Regions from separate parts of the Homo sapiens genome. Here region 2 is linked to region 1. The links are contacts of gene promoters, found by promoter capture Hi-C in blood cells and fetal thymus (Javierre and others, 2016). All regions are on one chromosome and are shown on one strand. The core of a region is centred on a gene start or on the middle of the fragment in contact, and the rest is flanking DNA. Distances in the headings are between cores, read along the strand shown.

Region 1 (3,530 bases), core at 486-2,985:
CAGACCTGCCCCCACATATTTAGGCTTCAGGCTGCCTTGGTACTTGTCAGTCATGTATTAAATGTTTTACACATATTAAATATGTAATTTAGTCCTGAAAACTCTGTGAGATACTTCAAACTATTAGCCTCATTTTATAGATGAAGCACAGAGAAGTTGCAGTATCCAAGTTTTACATTCAAGTTTATACAAAAGCTAAGTAAGTACAATTAATTCAAACTAGGATTTGTCCAATGCCATTCTTCTTACTAATATGCAAAGTCTTCAACACCCGAATCCTTCAGCCATTTTATAACTCTGAGTCTAACCATCTGCATGAAAAGCTGTTCACAGAGGATTCAGGAATTTTTCTCCCCACAAACGAATTTTTTGCCTCTATCACAACTAGTCATTCCTTAATAACTGTGACAATGATGCTCTACTGTTTTTAAGACTTTTTTCTGACCACTGAACTTTTTTCTGGAGTCATTTATATCAAACTGATTAGTGGTAACTTTATATTCATAATGAGCTGCAATCTTCCTAAAAACAACTTATGAGAAGTTTACACATCTCCCTTTCTATTGCATATATTTCAAGCTAACAAATCAAGAGCAAATCTACTTAGACAAGTACCCAAATCCTTAGCAACAAAAAGTTTAGTGTGTTGGGTGGCTAAATGTGACTAATTTTTGTTAGTACTACAAGTAGCTTTCAATACATCAGTATGGCTAAATAAGGTCATGGAAAACATAAATAGGATGGAGATGTCTAGGGAAAATGAAAAACTATTCTTTTCTGAATGAGAGTGTTGAAAAAAGTTGGGATATTAGGGGTACAGTATTGAAGAAAAAAGGGTTATGTGTATGGTATAAACTGGAAGAAAGAGGGCATGATACTGAGCTCAAACTAGTTAAAATTTGTGACTTACAGTTGCGATCTGGAAATCTAAGGGCAAGGTGCTGTAGGATTATGGTCTCAGTGACTCACCTAATGGAAGGACCTCACATGCCCGGGAGCCCCTCAAAAGAGTAGGTTCCAACTGACCTGTACATCTTAAACTTCAAAAAATATGTCTGCCTAAAGGGTCTATATTTATATTATGACTTCAGCAGCAGAAACAGGTGGCTGGCCTTTTTATCCTCCTATCTGGAATCTTTTTCCAAATGTACATATCTTTATCATATTTCTGATTATTAAAAGTATATAATAAGTTTATGGAAAAATTGGAAAAGAATAAGAAATTATCAAAACAAAAGTAAGAAGCACAATCCAAATCATTACCTCCTTTCCTAATTCACCCCATTCCCTCCAATCTGGTTTCAAGGATTGGACTCCAAGGGAAATGATGGCTATTAGTGGCTGAGAGGCGATTGGATGGAGGAGACTGCCACTTTTCTTTTCTTGTAGCTTAGAAAAGGATAAGTAATCCTCCCTCTCAGCACAACCACAAAAAAAGTAACAATGGTTAATATAACTTTGGGAAAATGCAGCCCCTCCCTGGTAATCAGAGAAAGGCAAATTCTGACCACAGGGAGAAGGCGCCACTTTTGACCTCTGGAATTAGCAAAGACAAAAATGAGTGACAGGGCCTGGTGTGGTGTGGGGTGGGAGGTTGGTAAGCCGGTCCACTTCTGCAGCGCTGCTGGTGGGAGGGGAAAGTGGGGACCAGAGATGGGGGATGACATAATCCTCACGTGATCAGGAGCTGACGTGAACCGAAGTCCTTATATTCCCGGGCTTCTTTCTCCTCTGGGTACCAGCTCCTTACTGCCCTGCAGACAAGCGTGCCGTGCGTGCTTGTGGCCAAGGGAAGGAAGAGGTAAATTCCTTAAATCCCAGCAGGTTGGAGTGAAGGAACCACTGGACCCCCGGGGTCAGTAGTGGGTGAATCTAATGACTGGAATAGGTCCAGACTTGCTTTCCCAAAACCGCTGCAAAATCGTCGGAGATAATTGTATCTTTTGCAGGGGGAAGCAAGGGGGTAGGTCGAAATCTTTTGAGAGACACCTAGAGATTTAGTGACAGCTTTGAAATAATCGGCTTCTCTCACCCTGGCATGCTTTCTTTTTATCCTTCTCCTCATCTTTCTCCAATTTTGTTAAGAGAAAATTTTAGGCCTGGGGTATGTGTTGGTGTGTGGAGAAAGGCTGAAATCCCGGGATGGAGACAACAGAAATTTAGAGATCATTTGAAAATAGTTCACCTCACTCAATGCCGGCCTGTGGTGGTGGGGTGGGGCGCGGGACGGGGCGAAGGAGGGAGACGCGGGCCTTGCAAGGCCCAGGCCTGAGGGTGAGGAGTGGGGAGTGGAAACGGAAATCCTGAAGGAAAGGATACAGACAGGAAGGAGGGGCCAGGAGGTAGAAATCCGGGGGGCGATGACGGTGATGATGAGAATCCCAGGTTCAAAATAATAACGTCTGTCTTGTCTCTGGAGCTGGTTGATCCACAGATAGCTCCTTCCTCCCCGCCCCTTCCTTTTTGTTTGGAGGTCCCAGGATCTGTGTTCACAGACATCTGGGGGAAGAAAAGGAGCAGGAAACTACCCCGCACAGGTCAGTATGAGAGAGGCACTTAGACTGAGATCTCTGAGGATAGGAGTCGGGAAGGGGCAAAAGCTAGGCGAAATTTGCGGCTTCGCAGTCCATCTCCTTTTCTGCTCCGCCTCTCCTGCCTATTGGAGAGGCCATTAGCTTTGTCTGCTGGGGAAACGGTGGGTTCCTGAGGTGGGAGGGGAGAAAAGGGGGAGATGAGAGGGTGGAGGGAACTGCCGCAGACTTATGAGGTCTGGACCTGTGGGGCAGAGATGGGAAAGTATCTTGCCTCAGAGAGAAACTGACAATCGTGATTCAAAAGTAATGAAGCAATTTGTCTTTACATTTTCTCCCTAGAGTTAAGCAGGAAACAACAACAACATCATGCAAAAACCCTGCAAAGAAAACGAAGGAAAGCCAAAGTGCAGCGTGCCAAAGAGGGAGGAAAAACGCCCGTATGGAGAATTTGAACGCCAGCAAACAGAAGGGAATTTTAGACAGAGGCTGCTTCAGTCTCTCGAAGAATTTAAAGAGGACATAGACTATAGGCATTTTAAAGATGAAGAAATGACAAGGGAGGGAGATGAGATGGAAAGGTGTTTGGAAGAGATAAGGGGTCTGAGAAAGAAATTTAGGGCTCTGCATTCTAACCATAGGCATTCTCGGGACCGTCCTTATCCCATTTAATTAATTTCTCTGACAATTCAATTATTTTCTGTTATTAATGTTGCCACTGCTTTCTGTTTGTCTGCACTTTCTTGATAAATATTTGCTATCGTTTTACTCCAGTCATTCGATGTTGCTGAGATTTACATATGACTCTTGTCAACATCTCATCTTTTGACCCAATCTTATTCATTTAATAAGAGGTCTCATTCATTTGCATGGAAAAATGCTCATTGTATATTGCAAAGTGAAAATAACGAGTTGCAAAACAGTGTATACATATATGTGTGTATATATGTACACTTTATTTGTACATTTCTATGTGACATAATGCAAAGGAAAGTGTCT
Region 2 (3,429 bases), core at 88-2,587, 110 kb after region 1:
AGCCAATAAAATTCTGTTAATTAGAAATTACCCAGTCCCAGGTATTGTCTTATAGCAGCAAAAACAGACTAAGACAGGAAATTGGTGTCAAGAAGCCTGGCTGTTGCTATAAAAAATACCTGAAAACGTAGATGCAACTTTGGAACTGGATAATGGGTGGAGGCTGGAAAATTTTGGAGGAGCAGGGTAAAAAAGCCTAGATTTCCATAAATGGAACAATTCAGGTGAGGGCTCAAAGAAGAGAACTGTAGGGAAAGTCTGAAGCTTCTTAGAGATTACTTAAGTGGTAATTGCTGGGTGAGGTGTCAGAGCCCCAGCATCAGAAAGTGGTTGACTTGCAGGTTGGTAAGAATTTACTGACAACAGTATAGGTTTGAAAAAGGAAAGTTTTATTAGAAAAAAAGTATGTTGCAGAAGAAATGCAGCATTTACGGACCTTAAAGTGGGAGCTTAAGTGTAATTTGGACCATATTAGCCATGTAGGTCATAATAAGTGATTACATTTGTAGACATTTTGGTTCCTTAATGTCAGCAAGGGTTGTACAATGAGTTTTGACATGCATGGATTCCAGAGATGTACAGAAATTCTAGTTACTTAGAAAATTTTTGAAAGAGGCCTGGAACCTTTAGGCACTAGGGAAGTTTAATTACTTCTAAATTCCTCAGATAAGGAATTTTGCCTCAGAATGGCCTGTTTGATGGTTGCCAGGTGTTTTTGGCTTTCTTCGTTACACTTCTAAATTCCTCAGATAAGGAGTTTGTGTCTCCAGGGCTTACTCGATGGCCACCTGGTGATTTTGCTCTCCTGACTTTCCCCCTGACAAATATTTTGGTAAAATCTTTGACCCTCTAGTAATGATCAGAATGTTCATAGAAATATGGACAGTAAAGGCCATTCTGATGAGGTCTCACATATAAATGAGGAACAAAGTATTATAAACTGGAGGAAAGGCCATCTTCATTATAAAGTGGCAAAGAACTTGGCTGAATTGTTTCCAAGCCCACACAAGGGCTTTGTGGACGGCATAGTTGAAAAGCAGTGAGCTAGGAAATCGGTGAAAGAAACATCTAAACAAAAAAACGTTCCATATGTTGTGTGTCTTCCTTCAACTGCATACAGTAAAATGCTAGAGAAAAAAATGATTTAAAGATGGAATTTATAATTAAAAGGGAGCCAGGCACGGTAGCTCACGCCTGTAATCCCAGCAATTTGGGAGGCCAAGGCAGGTGGATCACTGGAGATTAGGGGTTCGAGACTAGCCTGGCCAACATGGCGAAACCCCATCTCTATTAAAACTACAAAAATTAGCCAGGTGAGGTGGCACATGCCTGTAATCCCCGCTACTCAGGAGGCTGAGGCAGGAGAATCGCTTGAACCCAGGAGGCGGAGGTTGCAGTGAGCCAAGAGCACACCACTGCACACCACCGTGGGCAATAGAGTGACTTCATCTCAAAAAAAAAAAAAAAAAAGTGGCGGTGGGGTGGGGAACAAAACTTAGAGATTTAAAGGATTCTCAGCCTAGTCAGGTGGTAGAGAATCAAAGAGCACTTTCAGGAGAGGAAACCAAGGATGTTTCCAAGTGACCGTTTCATAAGGAGATTGGTGTGGATAGAAGGAAGCCAGGGGCTATTCATCAGAACAATGGGAGAATGAACCCAAAGTCACTTCAGAGATTACCAGTGCCACCCTTCCCATCACAGGCTCTGAGTGCCAAGACCTGGGTGAAGGAAATATGTCAAAAAGAGAGGCTGAGGACGACCTTAGAACCTTTGGACTCACGTCCCAGGGCTGCTTCAATTTTCTGCTCCCCATATTCCAGTGCAGCATTTCTTGACTACCCCAGTCATGGCTCAAATGGGCCAAGGTGCAGCTCGACCTGCCACACTGGAAGGTACAAGTCATAAACTGTGGTGGAATCCACATGATGCTAACTCTGCAGGTGTGCCGTATGCAAGAGCTGTATGGGCACGTCTTCCTCTACCTAGATTTCAAAAGATGTTTCAGAAGCCTTGGTGGACAAGCAGAGACTTGTTGCAGAGGTGGAGCAAAAGCAGAGAGCCCTCACTAGGGCAATGCCCAGTGGAAACTCAGCTTTGATGTGGAAGTTCTGCTGGGCATTTCCTTAGTCAGGGCTCTCTCCAGTCAGAACTGTGGGGTCAGAGCCACTGCAGAGAGTCCCCACTGGGACAATGCCTCGTAGAATTTTGGGAGTGGACTGCCTGAGAGACCCCAGAATTGTAGGGCTACTACTGTGCAACACCAGCCTAAGAGAGCTGCAGGCATGAGACTCCAACCTATGAGAATTGCTGTGTGGGCTAAGCCCAGAAAAGACATAGGGGCAGAGCTGCCTAAGGCCTTGGGGGCCCAATTTCACCTCAGTGTGTCCAGGAGATGGGACATGAGGTCAAGGAAGCTTATTCTAGAGCATTAAAATTTAATGTTGTTCACCCTGTTGAATTTTGGACTTACGTGGGACCCTCTTTTCTTGTCTATTTCTCCTTTTTGGAATGGGAGTGTCTATCCATTGCCTGTTCCACCACTGTATTTTAAAATACATAACTTGTTTTGATTTCACAGGCTCACATCTGGAGAGGAATTTGCCTCAGCATGAATCATGCCTTCCGTTGAGTTAAATAAGACTCTGGACTTAGGCCTTTTTAGTTGATGTTGGAACGAGTTAAGACTTGTGGGGCTATTGGGATGGAATGAACGTATTTTGTATGTGAAAAGGACATAAGTTTTGAGGGGCCATTGATGAGATGCTGTGGTTTAAATGTTTGTCCCCGCCAAAACTCGTGTTGAAATTTGATTGCCATTGTTACAGTATGGTTGAGTATAACTTTTTCAAAATGCTTGGGATTAGAAGTGTTTTAGCTTTCAGATTTTTAAATATTTGCATTATACTTACCAGTTGAGCATCCCAAATCAAAAAATTCAAAATCTGAAATGCTCCAGTGAGTATTTCTGCAGGTTATATTTGCACTCAACTGCTTCTGATATTGGAGGATTTCAGATTTCATATTTTCAGATTTGAGATGCTCAATCTGTATTAAGATGTGAGATAATTAAGAGGTGATTAGTTAGCTAGGCATGGTGCTGTGTGCCTGTGTTCCCATCTGCTTGGGAGGCTGAGAGAGAATCACTTGAAATTTGAGGATACAGTGAACTATGATTGCAGCCTGGGTGAGAGAGTGAGGCCCTGTCTCTTTAAAAAACAAAAAAAAAAAAGAGAAAGAAAAAGAAAAAAAAAAAAAGAAGTGATTGGGCCATGAGGGTTCTGCCTTCATGAATGGATTAATGCCATTATCACAGGAGTGGATTTCTTATCACAGGAGTAGTTTTGTTATACAAGGGCAAGTTTGGCCCCCTTTCACTCTCTCATTTGCCCTCTTGCCTTCCACCTTGTGATGACACAGCAAGAAAGCCCT

The links. The method cuts DNA at HindIII sites, captures the fragments that hold promoters and counts their contacts. A CHiCAGO score of 5 or more calls a contact.
Region 2: a fragment that was not itself captured here is called in contact with the fragment with the promoter of TCEAL7 in region 1 in 1 of 17 cell types (naive CD4 T cells); the score reaches 5.4 in naive CD4 T cells.

What each region holds. Positions count from the first base shown.
Region 1 is chrX:103,328,504-103,332,033 of GRCh38, forward strand. TCEAL7 (transcription elongation factor A like 7) reads left to right here and starts at 1,736. Exons shown (of 3, transcript NM_152278.5): 1 at 1,736-1,801; 2 at 2,420-2,537; 3 at 2,874-3,530. The coding sequence starts at 2,901. The coding sequence ends at 3,203. RefSeq lists an enhancer at 2,252-2,751. The HindIII fragment of the contact is 8,380 bases long and covers 1-3,530 here.
Region 2 is chrX:103,440,076-103,443,504 of GRCh38, forward strand. All of the region lies in intron 2 of LL0XNC01-250H12.3 (a long non-coding RNA gene), which reads left to right. Among named protein-coding and RNA genes, the nearest start is that of LL0XNC01-250H12.3, 37 kb to the left of the region's middle. RefSeq lists enhancers at 362-1,047, 1,048-1,734. The HindIII fragment of the contact is 2,150 bases long and covers 263-2,412 here.